4 separate regions of the Homo sapiens genome follow, and regions 2, 3 and 4 are each linked to region 1. Evidence: promoter capture Hi-C in 16 types of primary human blood cells and fetal thymus (Javierre and others, 2016). All regions are on one chromosome and are shown on one strand. Each heading gives the region's core, a stretch centred on a gene start or on the middle of the fragment in contact. The rest is flanking DNA. Distances are from core to core; before and after follow the strand shown.

What was found. The method cuts DNA at HindIII sites, captures the fragments that hold promoters and counts their contacts. A CHiCAGO score of 5 or more calls a contact.
Region 2: a fragment that was not itself captured here is called in contact with the fragment with the promoter of SLC10A1 in region 1 in 4 of 17 cell types (M2 macrophages, neutrophils, erythroblasts and 1 more); the score reaches 6.3 in M2 macrophages.
Region 3: a fragment that was not itself captured here is called in contact with the fragment with the promoter of SLC10A1 in region 1 in 1 of 17 cell types (endothelial precursors); the score reaches 6.2 in endothelial precursors.
Region 4: a fragment that was not itself captured here is called in contact with the fragment with the promoter of SLC10A1 in region 1 in 1 of 17 cell types (neutrophils); the score reaches 6.0 in neutrophils.

The regions. Positions count from the first base shown.
Region 1 is chr14:69,795,624-69,799,775 of GRCh38, reverse strand. It overlaps SLC10A1 (solute carrier family 10 member 1), which reads left to right and starts at 2,535. Exons shown (of 5, transcript NM_003049.4): 1 at 2,535-2,976. The coding sequence starts at 2,621. The HindIII fragment of the contact is 9,870 bases long and covers 1,819-4,152 here.
Region 2 is chr14:69,580,912-69,585,283 of GRCh38, reverse strand. No RefSeq gene overlaps it. Among named protein-coding and RNA genes, the nearest start is that of CCDC177, 8.2 kb to the right of the region's middle. The HindIII fragment of the contact is 4,802 bases long and covers 360-4,372 here.
Region 3 is chr14:70,034,489-70,039,013 of GRCh38, reverse strand. No RefSeq gene overlaps it. Among named protein-coding and RNA genes, the nearest start is that of SNORD169, 59 kb to the right of the region's middle. The HindIII fragment of the contact is 3,722 bases long and covers 391-4,112 here.
Region 4 is chr14:69,563,793-69,567,972 of GRCh38, reverse strand. No RefSeq gene overlaps it. Among named protein-coding and RNA genes, the nearest start is that of CCDC177, 9.0 kb to the left of the region's middle. The HindIII fragment of the contact is 3,704 bases long and covers 1-3,451 here.

The sequences.
Region 1 (4,152 bases), core at 1,286-3,785:
GTGGAAGAAGGGAGAGAATCAGGAAAAATAACTATCAGAACTATCAGGTACTATGTTTAGTACCTGGGTGACAAAGTGGTCCGTGCACCAAACCCCCATAACACAAGTTTGTCTGTAACAACAAACCTGTACATGTACCCCTAAATCTAAAATAAAAGTTAAAAAGAAATGTAATTTAAATCACAGCATCCATCACACAGCATGTGCTCAACAACTCTCAGGTATCATTAACATAACACAAAAAGATCTTCCTGTTTCCAAAATTGTATTAAATTAGAGTAGATTCTGAGGGGATATGGGGAAAAGAATGGAGGGTGTCAGGTTCCTGGAAGAGATTTTTCCATTCTCTGCAAAGTCACATTGCTAGGAACAGAGGGAATGGGAAGGAGTGGGAGGAGGGGCAGCCAGGGCAAGAAACTGTTTTCTCAAAGGGAAAAACTCACAGTAGGAGGTGGAAGGATTTTGGGTTCCTGAGAAGAGGTGAGGAGGAAGAGTTGATAGAGACTACGTGGTTTAGAATCCAGGTTACAAATGTGTTCATAGGAACTCTTCTTCTCTTTGGATGTGCACAATAGACACATGCCCAGACCCTGATCTTTAACAGATATTGGTCAATTCCTCCTCACCCTTTGGCATCAGGCAAATGTGTAAAAACCTAACGTCTCCCTTTGACTTCAAGGCCTCATGTACGGTTGCACAAGACATCTGTAGAGTGGCGTCCCTAGCATTGTGTAGTGCCCAACCTGAACAGGTGTACCTGGCAGCCCTGCATGGCCTCCACCCTCACGTGCTTCCATATTGCATTGTGTACCATCTGGCCATCTGTGGTCTTGTACAGACCATCAGGTCCCTGAGAACAGGAACATGAATTATATAGTTTTTTTTATTTATTTATTTTTATTTTTTTTGCCTCCCATGGTGCCTGGTACTCAGTTAGTGATCAATAATTCTCCCCTAGCAACTCTGTTCCCTTCTGATTAGCCCCAGGGAGAGGAAGCAGCCTCCTCTGAGACTCAACCCTACCCTGTGGGAACGCTCAGTCCAGGCATCACATCCAGTGCCCAGTCCTCTGCCTGCCCTCCCTTTGATACCAGCCCAACTCAAGCACCAGGAAATCATTAGCAGAGACTCTCAAAGGAAAAGAGGCTTCAAGTTCATGTCACCCAGGGCCACAGTATACGGCCCCGCAGGCTGCCCACCGCGCAAGCCCAGGGAGCAGCCTTTTCATGGATATGATGCAATATGTATGGATCCTGCCATCCAACCCTTATCCAAGCAGGATTCCAGAGGCCTCAAGGCCATTCTTGGAGAGCTCTCATTTTCAGGTGGTTCCTTGCACCAAGCCAAAATCTGTCCCCACCTCCACCCAACAGTGGTTCACACCCTGGTCCCTATTCTGCCCTCTGGAGTCCTACATACAAAGCCTAATCACCTGTTTCAGACCCCACCCAGGCCTCCTAGGTTCCAACCAAGCCAAGAAGCAATTGTGTTTCTGAAGGAGACCCCTCCTCCCTTGTCCCACCTCTGCAGTGGGGATAGATGGAAAGAGCAAGGCCTAGGATAACCTCACACACTAGGTGGCCCCGCCCCTGGCATGCCCACCTCTCTCTGCTTCTGCTCCACGCCCCAAGCCTGGCTCCCAGCCTGAAACACACAGGCCCAGTGCAAAAGTAAAGCAATCAGGAAGTCAGGAAGAAAAGACTGCATTCCTGCTTCCTTCTCAGCAAGTTTTGCAAGCAATGGGCCTCCTCGGGCACAAAGCAATCTCCACAGCCAGGGTTCTCTCAGGTTGCTTTTCGGGGAAAGAGCCTCCAAGCTTCCTGAGAGCCCACCCACCATCCCAGCTGGTTATTCCCTCTGATGGTAAGCATTCCAGGTAGTGTGGAGCAGCCACCACCAGTATTCCTCCCTGGGACTCATACAGTCCCAGTTTGGGGATAAAACAAACATTTCCCCAGAACAGGCAGGGAGGATACTGGCATCCTCTCAGCTCCCAGGAAAAGGGTCATGGACACATCCCCTCCTGGAGGCCAGTGACATTGCCTGTCCCACACCCCCTTGGACTATGCTACCTGTATCTAGGAACCAAAGGCAACACCCAGCTCCTTTCACTCTCATGGGTTCTGGGGACAAATGATAACCCACTGGACATGGGGAGGGCACCTTCCCCCAACCAAGAAACTAAGGAATCAAGAGCGGAGCTGGGAAAAGGAGCTGCAGGGAAGGAGATGGGCTGGACCTAGATTCAGGTGGGCCCTGGGCAGGTCCCCAGTAACTGAATGAATGCCCATGAGGCACACTCAGTGGAGGGCAAAGGGGAGAAATAAGCCCAGAAGCAGCAAAGTGACAAGGGAGGAGTACAAGTAGCACCCAGGAATCCAGCAGAGGTCAGGGAGCTTGGGAGAGCTAGGGCAGGCAGATAAGGTTCTGGGCTGTTCCTCTTTGGGGCGACAGCCAGAGAAATAGCTCAGATAGTTGCATAACCCTTCTATTTGCCCAGAGCTTTTGTCCAGAAACTCTCTGTCCTGAGAGGTGATTAAAGAAGGCATCCAGCAAGAACTGCACAAGAAACGGAGTCAGCCGGAGAACAAGGAGTGGTCTTCCACTGCCTCACAGGAGGATGGAGGCCCACAACGCGTCTGCCCCATTCAACTTCACCCTGCCACCCAACTTTGGCAAGCGCCCCACAGACCTGGCACTGAGCGTCATCCTGGTGTTCATGTTGTTCTTCATCATGCTCTCGCTGGGCTGCACCATGGAGTTCAGCAAGATCAAGGCTCACTTATGGAAGCCTAAAGGGCTGGCCATCGCCCTGGTGGCACAGTATGGCATCATGCCCCTCACGGCCTTTGTGCTGGGCAAGGTCTTCCGGCTGAAGAACATTGAGGCACTGGCCATCTTGGTCTGTGGCTGCTCACCTGGAGGGAACCTGTCCAATGTCTTCAGTCTGGCCATGAAGGGGGACATGAACCTCAGGTAGGCCTGGGGGTGAGGAGGGAACAGCCTGGGACAGGAGCTACATTAGATATGTCACAATTGAGGGGAAGAGCTGGGCTAAAGCCAGGAAAAGGAGTGAATGCAGGCTGGGTGGAGGCTAGGGCAGGGGAAGTCTGGCATTTATTGCCAAGAGCTTATGCTGGGATGGGGGCAGGAGTTGGGGTACGTCTGGTTTAGGCACCAAGCCAAAGGGACCATACTGGTCCAGGAAGCTCGTGGTGATCTCCTTGCTTCCAGAGGTGTCTCAAGGATTGTCTTAAAGGAGCACTGATTAAAGCCAAAGGAACCTCTGGAGAACTGCATCCACCTACAACAGTGGACAAGTTGCCTGCTTTGAGCCCAGAGATTTAAAAGGTAGTGTGATTCGTTCCAAACATCATCAGGGAGATCAAGGTGACTTGGAACCAAATGAGCACCTCAAATTCCTGCAAAGCGGGCAAGAATTTCCAAAAGGTCCTCCCAATTACCTGGTCATCTAAGATGTTTTCTCTTTAAAGTCCCTCATTCCCCATCAGATGCAATGACATTTCCATGCAAAGGCACAACCAGGGAGATCCTAGAGTTTCCCAGCACCCACTCCAGATAGGCCAGCCCCATCTCAGCCACCCTGATAAGGGGAAGACAGCAGCACCCCCTAACCCCCTGCCCAAAGCATTATAAGCAGAAATCAGCAAGGGCTCGCTCCTGGAGACGCAGCACACAGGGGCTGGTTGATGCTCATCCTTCCAAACTGGGGAGACTCTAGTCTTGAACATCTGCCAGAGGAGCTACTTCAGACCTGCTCCAGCTCCAGCAGCCTGTGCTGAAGCTAAAGAAAACTCACTAGCAGAAGCTCTTGCTTTCAGTGAAACCTCAGTCTCAAGCCAGTCCCCCCTGGTTTAGTCCTCCGTGGAGACGCTATTCAATGCCAGGTATAGCAGCAGAACCCAGAAAGTCCATCTGCTTGTGTCTGTCAGCACCCTACTCCTAGCCAAACTTTCCTAGGAAAACTAACCCAGTCAAGAAGCCCCTCCTAGTGATGCAAAATGACACTGGGACAGATTTTTTAAATGAAAAAAGTGAGAATGGCTGGGCACGGTGGCTCACACCTATAATCCCAGCACTTTGGGAGGCCAAGGCAGGAAGATCACTTGAGACCAGGAGTTTAAGACCAAC
Region 2 (4,372 bases), core at 1,511-4,010, 210 kb after region 1:
ACCACGCCCGTCTCACCCAGGAGTTTTGATACCACACCTAATCACACACCAATTTTGTTGATTCTCTCATACCTTGTCTCTACATGCAGATGACCAGAGGAGGGACGCCACCTGGTGGTAAGAGTGTGGAGTGAGCATTGAGTTCCCTTCTCAAAATTTGCCTCCAGTAAACAAAATAATCCTGCCTTCTAGTCAACCCTATCAAAGAGCTGAGCATCAGGGAAAAACTCCGATCTCCAGGAACAAATGACAAAAAAAAAAAAAAGTAGAAGGCACTGTTTCCAAATGGAGCAGAGGAACTGAAATCCAAGTTAGAGACATGATCTATAAACACACAGGAAAGCAACCAAAAGAAAGCTTGGATTTGCTCATCATTTCATCTAAATGTAGTGATAATAATAATGACTTTCCACTTACTGCGTAATACTACGTTCCAGATGCATGGGTACACTGTGCTGTGTGCTGAACATATTTAATCTCCTTTAATTCTCAGCAACAACCTTATAAGGGAGATATTACTATACCCATTTTATGGGGAACAAATGTCAGTTCAGAAAGTTTGAGTAACTCCCAGGATCACACAGCCAGGACCTGACAAGCTGGGATTTGACTTCAGGTCTGTGGACTCTGAAACTCATGATATTAACCATTAGGTTAGACACCTGATAGATATGGCCATTCAACAGGTTGAAAGTGGATCTCATCATCTTTGCTTCTCTTCCTCCTCCACTTCACACCTCAGCGAACAGCACAACCTGTCCTCCCCACACCTATCCAGTTGACCAAGCCAGACATCCAGGCAGGTTTGTTTTTGTTTTTGTCTTTGTCTTATGTTTGAGACAGAGTCTCACTCTGTCATCTAGGCTGGAGTGCAGTGGCACCATCTTGGCTCACTACAACCTCCACCTCCAGGGTTCAAGCAATTCTCCTGCCTCAGCCTCCCAAGTAGGTGGGGTTACAGGCACCCGCCACCACACCCGGCTAATTTTTTATATTTTTAGTAGAGAGGGTTTCACCATGTTGGCCAGGCTGCTCTCAAACTCCTGACCTCAAGTGATCCGCCCACCTCAGCCTCCCAAAGTGCTGGGATTACAGGCATGAGCCACTGTGCCTGTCTCACCCAGGAGTTTTGATACCACACCTAATCACTCACCAATTTTGTTGATTCTCTCTCATAAATTCACATTTTTTTCCTATGCTCTCTATCCTCACTGCTGCTGCCTTAGTTCAGGCCATGCCCATCTCTTGCCTGATTAGAGGGTCTCCCAGCAGTCCCTCTGCTTCCCAGCACATGTGTGATTATTTATTTATTTTTATTTATTTATTTATTTTTTGAGACGAAGTCTCACTCTGTCACTCGGGCTGGAGTACAGTGGCACGATCTTGGCTCACCGCAACCTCCGCCTCCCGGGTTCAAGCAATTTTCCTGCCTCAGCCTCCTGAGTAGCTGGGATTACAGGCACCTGCCACTATGCCCAGCTAATTTTTTGTATTTATGGTTCCACAGGCTGTACAGGAAGCATGATGCTGGCATCTCCTTGGCTTCTGGGGAGGCCTCAGGAAACTTACAATCATGGTGGAAGGCAAAGGGGAAGTAGGCACGTCTTACATGGCTGGAGCAGGCAGAAGAGAGGGAGCAGGGAGGTACTACACACTTTTAAACAACCAGCTCTCATGATCACTCATTTACTCACTATCACGAGAAACAGCACCAAGAGGATGATGCTAAACATTCATGAAAGACCATCCCCATGATCCAATCACCTCCCACTAGGCCTCACCTCCAACACTGGGGATTACAATTGACATGATATTTGGGCAGGGACACAGATCCAAACCATGTCATCCCTTTAAAGAAGTAATTAAGGCTGGATGTGGTGGCTTATGCCTCTAATCCCAGCACTTTGGGAGGCCAAGGGAGGATGGCTTGCAGCTAGGAGTTGGAGACCAGCCTGATCAACATAGCAATACCATCTCTAAAAAATAAAAAGTAACTAAGTTAAAGTACAGTCATCAGGGTGGGCCCTAATCCAATGTGACTACTATCCTTATAAGAAGAAATTAGGACACAGGAAACAGAGGGACAAATGTGAAGACATAGTGAGAAGGTGGCCATCTGCAAGCCACGGAGAGAGGCCCCAGAAGAAACCAAGCTGCTGACATCATCATCTTGGACTTCTCGCCTCCAGAACTGTGAGAAAATACATTTTCGTTGCTTCAGTCACCTAGTCTGGGGCATTTTGTTACAGCAGCCCTAGCAAACTAATACAATCAAGAAAGGAAATCAGACTCAGCAAGGCTGAGGGACCCACCTAGCGCTGTCTAGCTCCTTAGTAATGCATTCATCACATTCTGCCTGTGACCACTCTCTTATGTTGATTATCAGATAAAATAATGGATTTAACTCTTATTATTTAACTTCTTGAGTGTTTGGGTCTTATTGCTCCAACTGGCACTCAGGGTAAGGGGCCTTGTCTTCCCCTTCTCAGTATTTGCAGATATCCTAGCTGAGCTTGGTGCATCTTAACAATAACTTTTTGATGCATTTCTTGTTGTTGTTGTGTGGTTGATTGACACATTTGGATGGGTAAAAAGGAGCCTGATGGCTGGGCATGGTGGTTCATTCCTGTTATCCCAGCTGCTTGGGAGGCTAAGGTGGGAGGATTGCTTGATTCCAGGAGTTTGAGGCCAGCCTGGGCAACATAGCAAGAACTCATCTCAAAATAAAAGTAAAAATTAAATTTAAAAGGAGCCTGATGGTAAATTCCTGATCCCCAAGAGACACATACAAAGGTAAATTCCTGATCCCCAAGAGACACATATTCTGCCAGTGATCACACATATTCCCAGAAGTAGAATATGACTCATCTCTGAATGTCTAAATATATATATTGGGATGACTGGTCTGAGGCATCATGGAAGGCAATGGTGCATAATGTTCTAAATTAGAATTGTCCATTAAGAAGAAAAAGGAGGGGGGGCTAGGCACAATGCTCATGCCTATAATCCCAACACTTTGGGAGGCCAAGAGGGGAGGATTGCTTGAGCCCGAGAGTTTGAGACCAGCCTGGACAACATAGTGAGACCTCATCTCTACAAAAAATTAAAAAATTGGTGGGCATGGTGGTGCATGCCTTTAGTCCCAGCTATTGGGAGACTGAGGTGGGAGGATCACTTGAGCCGTGGGGGTTAAGGACATAGTGAGCCATGATCGTGCCACTGCACTCCAGCCTGGGCAATAGAGCAAGACTCTGTCTCAAAAAATAAAATTAAATTAAAATTAAGTTAAAATGTAAAAAGAAAGAAATACATCAGTGCGTGTGTGTGCGTGTGTGTGTGTGTGTGTGTGTGTGTGTGTGTGTGTGTGCGTGCATGTTGGCAGGCAGAGGCACGGGGGAGAGGCCAGTGGGAACAGTGGCTGTGATGCCAGTGTAGCCTCTCTGAAATGGAAGGGGCCTAAAGGGACTGAGCAGAGAAGTGGCTTATGCCAGAGGCAGATGGCCCAGCAGGAGAGGCAGAGACTGGAAACAAGCCTGGCTCCTGAGCACCAGCCTGTTCTTTCAAGCACAAGCATTTCACAGAGGAGATGCCCATGGGGCAGCACCCCTGGTTCCTGGTCATACTCAGGAAGGAGGACGCTTCTGCAATATCATACAAAAGGCTGGTGGATGGAATGAGGTGCAGCCCTTCACAGAGTGAGAGAAAAGCCCATTGGATTAATCATAAGGCTCCCTCTACATCTCCGCAGTGACGCAGCTTCACAGTTAAGGGCAGGCTGGGCCTCTCCTGTCCCACGAGACAGTTCTTAAACATGAGCATCACCTGCTTAAGAAGCCTAACTCTGAAGATTCACCAAAGCAGCTTAATGGCTCAGGGTACTTTAGGTAGTTTTATGGTACACAGAGTGGGCAAAGTAGCACTACTTAGATCTCATTTCCTCTCGATGCATCCAGCAGGAGGGCTACCACTTACTGGACCCTAAGCAATTGAGAGCAGAAACAGACAAGAACCTGTCCTGCAGCTTGCAAGTCCCTGCCACCTACACACCAAAATGTAACAGTGGTGGTCTTTCAGCAATGATTTTTCTACACGTGATTTTTTTTCCTTCCTTTTCCTGTACTTTTTCATTTCCTCTTTTGATGAACATATATTACTTCATTAAAGTATGAAATAAAACACTTTACTTTTAACAACTATTACCTTTTACCTGCTGGTTTGTGTCCTAAATTTCTTCTTAAGGCTTTAGTCTCAGAAATTGGGAATGGTTACACATTAAGCTGTATATAGTTCTGGGTCCAATCAAGATACAGAAACCACATAGCAATTTAAACAGAGAAGCCTAACACAAAGAGGTATGAAGCTAACGGTTCCC
Region 3 (4,525 bases), core at 1,002-3,501, 240 kb before region 1:
CCAGCGTTCTGTGGGGTTTGAAGCCCAGCTCTACTATTTTTACCCGTTGTGGAATTTTAAGCAATTGACTGCCTCCCTGAGCTTCAGTGTCCCTAAACCCAAAATACAGTGTTGCAACGATTAAAGAAACCATTCTCAAGTCAATTGCCATAGGGTTTAGCACCTTCCATACACCCTAGAAATGTTAAACTTGAGTATTACGATTTGGAGAGATGGTCAAGGGACACCAGGACCTCCAAGTCATGTGAGCCTTTAGACACAGTGGAGAAGAGAGACAGACATGTTTGGTGTCAAAGAAAGGGTGACATAGAAGAGGCGGCAGGCCAAAGGAGTTCATTAATGCTAATAAGTAAGTCAGATAATGGTGGGCCTGAAGAAGGGAGTGAAGCTTTGTGAGAAGTTATGTCATCTGTCCAAGGCCATTCCACAAGTAAGTGGCAGAGCTGGGCTTAATATCTAGAGTGACCATTATCTTCACATGCACCTGCTAGGTAGGTAAGATAGTTATTATTTACTGTCAGGGTGGTGAAGAAGAAAGCACAAATCATAAGTAGAATAACTTGTCTGGTTTGCCCAGGACTTTCCTGGTTTTAGCACTGAAAGTCCTGTGTCCCAGGAAATCTCTCAGTCCTGGAAAATTGGGACAGTTTGTCACCCTAAAATATTGAGTCTTACAGAGCTAGTAAGAGATGGAATGTCTACATGCAAATTCTACTCTGTTGTGCTGCCATATTTTCCAGCCATTCCATATCCTGTTACTCTTAGCTAGCATCTCAGTTACATGAGGTTCTTTCCTTGGTAGGATAACCCAAACTTTCATTCCCACAAGATTTGAATTATTGGCATGTTGCTCAGTTTTCCGTTGACCAGTACTTTTGGGCAAGGGAGTATGAAAAGGTACATCAGATGAATTCCTACATTGCAAACCCAGTCCTTCATATTCTCATTATGCAACAGCAACCCTATTTCCCCCAGGTAATTAGGACATTCGTCTCACCAGTTCAATGAACCCAAAATGACTAGGAGGCAGTATCTACTTCTAATTCATCAGAACCAGAACTCTTCCTTGGTGCAAGCATTTCTCCATTGTCACTGGGACTTCCAAACCTGCTGAGACCAAAGCTATAGAAACAGAAAGTAAGATTCTTCATGTAGGTTATTAGGCATAATAATGAGAGGCATCACCCATCTCTACCCCTTAGTCTCCAGAACTATGATCCCATCTATGGATAGATTGCACTAGATATTGGCCCCCAATTACAGCATATACTGCATTCAGTATGATAGCATCTTAATATCACAAGGTATTATCTTCTACGTGATGCTGTAATTGAGCCTGAATCAGGTCATTCCACTTTTGGGTAATAGGAAAAGTGGTAAGACCAGTGACCCTGGTAAGACAATGTTGTGAAAGATATCACTGCAATGGATAAAACATTCAAAGTCCATAAATGGACATGCTAGCAGAAACACTATGGGCAAGAAAGGCAAATTCATACCCAGAATATGAGTCTATCCTCTGTGAAGAGACTGACTGCTACATTTTCTATAATGGCAATTGTCCAAGGAAATCAATCTGACACTGTATAACCTGCTGGCCTTCCTGGGAGATATTACCATGTCAATGGCTCATCCGTTGCTTCTGCTTTGAGCAGGTCATACACTCATCAGTGGCAGTAGCCAAATGGGCCTTGGTGAGAGGACAGCCAGGCTGTTGAGTCCAAGTACAGCCTCCATCCCTGTTGGCATGCCATTTTGTTCATGGATCCACTGAGCCAGCATCAGGGTGGCTAGGGAGAGGGGCCAACTAATATTAACGACAGCATGAGTCATATTGAGAACATCTACCACCATGGTTGCTCTCTGATAGGCATTTGTATGGGGCACTATATCTTCACACTATGGGGCCCATTCCATACATGGAATTCCTAAATTCCTAATTTTTCTTGCCACCAATTAGCTTCAAGTCCTCAATGAGCCAGTCACTCATCATCCACTGCATGAGTTGGTGTAGATCCATGATTCAGGCCCAAGTGGACAGTTCAATGTACTGCCTGAAGTTCTGTCCACTGGGAAAATTTCCATCCACCACAGTCTTTGAGGGTCTCCTGTGAGTAGGGCTATAGATGGCGCTGTCCACTTCTGGCTGGTGCTGGCATGCTGTGCAGAATTAGGTTCATGCTTTTTTCTCATTTATTCACTGGTCACAGGGAATTCCCCATGAAGTCAATGTGTGGTTGAGGGAAAGGCAGCAAAGCTGTTACCTGGAGTTACCACAGGAGTCAAAACTGCCTGTTTGTGCAGGTTACTGGTGCTTTCTTGACATGAATGGGCTGTTTTCCCTATATACATACCACTTCCATTTTATAATAAATATTTCTGAGCAAGTTCAATTTTATAATTTATTGGGAAAGGTACCCAGTTCTACATGGGTAGGTTAAGTCATATGTTATTTGGTGTTACTCCTTCCCTACTCATGTCCTGAAGAGTCCTAATGGGGTCCAGCATTTAATTAATGCTGCAACTTGGGCTTGGTCCATATCCCTGTGGTCCCTGCAGCTATAGGAGAGGAGGGACTCCTTTAAAGTTTCCTGGGAGGACTTCCAGTTCTCCCTGTGCATGTTAATAGCTTTTAATTTGTCTTTTCCCCCATGTATGTTCTCAAGAGTCATGCAAATAATCAGGTGATGTCATAATTTTTGAAAATACTGCAATTGCTCTAGGAACAAAGCATTAGAACCACTTGATCCCCCAGCATCTTGCCCTCCACTTTATTCTCTACCCCATTCAGTGATAATTTGAGTATTGATGATGCCACCCTTTACCATGAACTACCTGGGTCCCATTTGCCCTCATCAAGGAAGTTGTCCTTGAGCTGCTCATGACCAGCCCAAACCCAGAGTTCCACTTTATGAGTTTGCTTCCTCCTAGGCCCAAGTGGAAGGAGAGGAGAGGTTTCAGGAACTGAGAAGGAGAGAGAATCAGGTAGATAGGCCTCTTAGAGAGGAGTGATACCTTTCAGTCAAAAAACAAAGCCAGCCCAAGGCAACCTTACAGAGAATAACACCTGTCCTCCCTCCCCTCCCACTCTCCCATCTCCCACTGGACTCCTGGTCATCCAGAGAGCACAAGAACTCCATTGATGCCATGCATAAAAGTTAGTCCCCCAGGCAGAGCACGCAGCAGGTGAAGAAGGGGGAAGAATGGCTCCAGATGGGGTAGGCAGGAGATTTCTGCACACCATATAGAGTTGTTGCAATTATTTCATGAGATAACAGGCTTAGCAAAATGTCTGACATACAGTGAGAACTCCTGGGCAAAAACACCAAGGAGGCCCAGAGAGGTGAAGCCAATGGCTCAAGGTCACACAGCTAGTTCATAGCAAAACCAGGCTGAAGACTCCTGTAGTAGGTTCTCTGTCCACTGGCCCTGACTTTCCTGCCAGACCATGTGATTTTGCTGCTGATATTAATCTGTTCCTCCATTTTTAGCTTTCCTCCAGAAGTTACAACTCCATCATACAGCCCGCATCATAATGCTTTTTGCAATGGCATGTGCATCCCATCACTCTATCTCTACCTCATTTCACTGCCTTGTCAGGTATATTTCACTATACCTTTCCCTAAACAACTCATTTTTTAGAATCTGATACAGTGAACTACTCAACATCTCAGTAGACACACTTCTTTCCATCATTTAATGGAATTTTCCATCTATATATGCTGTATGCCTCTTTAAATGTATAGCAAAGTAATTGCTATTAAGAATGCTAAATTAGGAGTTGACAGAAGTGAATTCTAATTCTGGCTGTGTCACAAGCTAAAAGTATTTGACCTGGAGATGGCCACTCCGCCTATCTATTGAGATTTTAGATTTTTCACGTATAACCATTAGAATAGGTGATTTTTCAGGCTCCTCCCAGTGCCAACGCTCACTGATGATACAAATAAGGAGGAAGAGGAGGATGACTGACAGATACTGAGCTCCAGTTTTGTACCAGGCACTGTGCTGAGTACATTACTCTTGTTATCTCACTGCTGTGTCGCAGCAGTGAGAAAAACACCTTTCTGTTTTGAGCCAGAGAGGTTGGGAAGGGTGTACTTACTGAAGCTTATCCTGGTCTCTCCTGACTGAGTCTTATGAGCAGTTGAGCAACGTGTCCATCACTGTGTGGAGAGACCACATCCAAGTATGCAGTGCATGTGACCATCAAGTGTGTGAATTCTCAGGGTTGCCCTGGACTTGTAGACAGGCCTGGTCTGGGGTACTACATACAGGACCACCGACCAGTAGCTAGAGTTAGCGCTCTGGCTAGGAGGATACAGGCAAGACAGCTTTCACAGAGTGCATCCTGACAGAGGAAAAAGGGGCAGTGCAGAGCAGGAGAGGGAGCAGGGGCTGCTTGGGTGAGGTGTTGGTTGGGGGTGGCGTAGAGGAATAGAAGGAATTGGCCAGAGTGCCCCACCAAGACTTGACGAGAAATGACAAGAGAGACTTGTGCCCCATACATAGCACAGACACTTGC
Region 4 (4,180 bases), core at 350-2,849, 230 kb after region 1:
AATAAAGGGCTGTATCTTGTTTAGCATAGAATCCCCTACAGCCAATGGTTTTACATCTCACATATGGTAAGCACGTAGATACTGGATGGCGAGAAGGACAGAGGGATGGATGGACAAATGAATGGTGACCAGAGGAAATGTGTATAGACCAGCTAGGCAGGACTCCATTCATTCAACACATTTTCAGTGAGCCGCTGCTATGTGTCAGGCACTGCCCTTGGTGCTGGAGAAACAGCCTCTCCAATCATTGACCCTGGAGATCACGTATGTACAATGTCATGAGCAGACGACATCTTTGTTTCCATGTTGGGGGCTTAACAACCTTCTCACCTGAGTATCCATCTGCAGGCAGACCTGATGGTCCCTCAAGGCACTAACTTCAAACACTGTCAGCCTCCTAAGGACAAGTCATCCACCATTCAATCATCATTTAGTCACTGTTGCTCTCTTTCTTGGAGAAGCCTTGATTAATCAGGTCAAATTCATGCTATGCCCTTAATCAGCTTTAAATTTCAGTAAACAAAGAGATAAACTGAGAGAGAGAGATGAATCACCTTCAAGGGCATTACCTGTCATGCCTTTAAGAGAGGCAGCATAAATAATGATCTTCGACCTAGAGAACCGACCCTCAGGCTGTGCAGAGTCCTAATTCACCAAACGTCATTTGGTGCCAGCTCCTCATCTGACTGTTCTTACTGAGACAAGAAAGTCAAAATTGCAGGACCATTTCCAGTTTAAAAGTCTCAACAAAAAGAAATTTCTGGTTAATACTGAATCCATAAAGAGATTTAGTAAACCAGAATATCTCACTTCTTAAGCCTTCCAGGTAATTGAGCCCAAAGATTGCTATGTAGGCTTGCCTTTTCTCTGCTGTATGACCACATCTTCATCCAGTGAAACATTTGGCAGAGGAACATGAGGAAACTTGGTATTTCTTCACACAGCCTGCAAAGGGGCTTTCAGGGACCCAGAAGCAGAAAACTCTCAGTTCTGGAAATGTTGCTGAGGCCTCAGGTGTCTGGCATAGCACCTGAATATTACACCTCATCATATGCTTTGGTTATGTGTGTCTTTAGACAAGAGCAGTTCATCAGTTCATATGTGCTCTGTTACACAGAGCTCCCTGGCATCTCTCTCTACATGCATCTCCTCCCAACCCCATGGATCTTCCCAACAAGCCCCCAGCCCTTCACTACTATCCCTGGTGCTGCTTTGGTTTCCAATAGGTCAGGGCTGGGACAGAGGGTAGAGTTCTTGCCGTTTTCAATGCTGCCTCTCTTAAAGTCATGACAGGCAATACCCTTGAAGGTGATTCATCTCTCTCGCTCTGTCTCCCTCTGTCTCTGTCTCTCTTCCTCTATCTGTCTATCTTTTTACTGTAGCAGATGTTAGGATATGGAATGTGGGATGGTTTCTTTCAGAGAAACGCTGATAATGTGATCATTTGCAGTGTTATTACTTCCCAATTCATCAAATACAGTCATGTCTCAAATGAGCATAAAAACCTAGTCCAAAGTGATTTTTAAATTAGCTGTCATTTTGAAGTGTTCTTGCCTTTCTTCCTCTCCACTAGTACAATTTTTTGTTTGTTTGTTTTGGTTTGGTTTTGAGACAGTCTTGCTCTGTCGCCCAGGCTGAAGTGCAGCGGCACCATCTCGGCTCATTGCAACTTCCGCCTCCTGGATTCAAGCAATTCTCATGCCTCAGCCTCTCAAGTAGCTGGGATTACAGGTGCATGCCACCACACCTGGCTAAATTTGTATTTTTAGTAGAGATGGGGTTTCACCATGTTGGCCAGGCTGGGCTCAAACTCCTGGCCTCAAGTTATCCACCCACCACAGCCTCCCATAGTGCTGGGACTATGAGCCATGGCACCCAGCCCTCCATTAGTACAGTACTGATAGCATATTTTTGTGTCAGACACTTACACAGTTCACAGGACTTTCTTGTGAATGATCCATATCTTCTGTGTTTGAGCACACATGTGCAAGCGTGCATGCACATACACATGCGCACGCCCACCCTTACTGCTTCCAGCATCAGTGTTCTTGCAAAGGGAGGAACTATAGCCATCTTATTCTTCCAAGGAGAGCTAAGTTCTGGGAAGGCTGAGCTGCCCCTTGTAAGGTTCCATTGCTCCCACCTGCCTCCAGCCCCAAGGCTGCTTTAGGCTGTGGCTTGTGAGCATGGTGTCTGCATCTCCCAAATCCATCATCGAGCCTCATGTTGACGAAGGGTTTTCATGCTGCCACTACACTTCTCCTTCCCAGTGCATTCTCTCACTGGGTGTCAGAGATTTACTGGGAGATAGAATTTAGATACCAAAATGCCAGCATTCGGGAACATAGTATAACAAAATGACTGACGTCCATCAAATTCTGAAAATCTATTCCCTGTGGTTATCACAACTTAAGGCAAAGAGTTTGGCAAAGGAGCAAGTGTCTTGACTTATTCAAGCTATTCTCAACTTGTTCCTCTTGTCTTCTGTGAAATGGAGACAATAGATCCTATCTGGTAGGGAGCTGTTAAATCATTTAGTTCTTGGAAAGCAGTAGCACTTAATTTGTGGATACTGTTATCCTAAATTAGAGAAGATGGTAAAGGAAGGAATGGGGTAGATCGAGCTTAAGCCAGGTGGTCCTGGTGGACACCAGACTTGAATGGTAGCCCTTTTGGGGGTAGTCCTTGTTGCGTGGCAATCTTCCAACCATTCCAAATGAGGGGCTCTGGAAAAATGGTTCCCCTGGTAATAAGCAGTAGTCCTGGGGTTGTGGGGGCTGGGGGAGGTAGGGATTTACTTGTTTACCCATTTACCTTGTTTGGCAATAAAATTGACATCTGATAATAATTTTGGAAATTTTATTTTAAGACTTCTTAAATGATGGGTAAAATGACAGAATGCTTTAAAATTTGTGTATCTTTCTAGGGCAAAAGAGGGTGTGCTTCTGTCCTGGTGATGCCCAAATTCTATGATAGCATCTTCAGCAGGACCAAGTAGGAGAGGTTGTGGGAGAACCACTGTTCAGGGGGACTCTGGTACTACAGGGTGTGGTGGTACTTGGCAGGAATTCTGGACTATACAGCCATCTTCTGCTATGGCCACACAGGAATAAGGAAGAGGGTCTGGGACAAGCCTAACCTGGGAGAGTGCTGATGGGCTCACTGTAGGGGTAGTGTTGGAGCAGGAAGGATAGAGGTGGATATGCCTTAGCATCACTTCATCCTCAACTAATGACTTTCCTTGAGAAGCCTCACCAAATGTCCCCACTCTCCCTTCCTGGTCCTCTGGCCCTGTTGACAACTGCATGGAGCCTAGCTTCAGGCCTGGGTTTGTAAATGTCTGTTCTCCTCTTTGGACATACATCAATACACAGAGGTGCTAAACAGGTAGGCTGGCCCATCCTGGCTCTCACTGTGCATGGGGAAGTGAGGATGAAGAGTATGGCAAGCTTCTAGGCACTCTCCTACCTCATCAGCTTTCTTCCATCCTTGGATAACCTAGAGGGATGCCCTAGTGGACCTCAGAGTACTCCTGAATCCTCAGCAAAATTGTACAGTAGGCAGAGTGTGCTTCCTAGGAACATCTGCTTATTTCCAGAGAACCTGCAGGGTGAGCAAATGCATAGCAGAAAGGAACAATTTGCTAATGCTGGGATTGCAGGGGTAATGATAGCCAGTGTGTACTAAGCACTTACACTGTGCAGGCTACTATTTTAAGCACTTGATTCTCACAAGATTCTCTGTGCGGTAGGTACTGTTATTGTTTCCATTTTACAGATGATAAAATTGAGGCATAAACTTTAAGCAATTATATGCCCATAGTCACACAGCCAGTGTTGAGCAAAGTCAGCTTGGATTCCCTTAGTCTGGCTGTACAGCACATGCTTTTAACCAGTATGTTCTGTTGCTTCTTGGTAATCGGAATGATATTTTATAACCAAGGGGACCTCCTGGAGCATCCCAATGGCAGCCATTTGAATCACTGCCAGCAATATCTATGTGTAAGGCCTGCAGGGAGAAAGCTTAGATTTCACTGGAGCTTAGTGCCACCAGGTGGGTCCTGCTGGCACTAAGGATGGACTGAGGCTCACTGCCCAGAGACAAGACGAGGGACTCTTGTGCTGACCCTGAAGCTTACCACATCAGGGATGATGCATATTCTAGAGCAGAGGTATTCAAA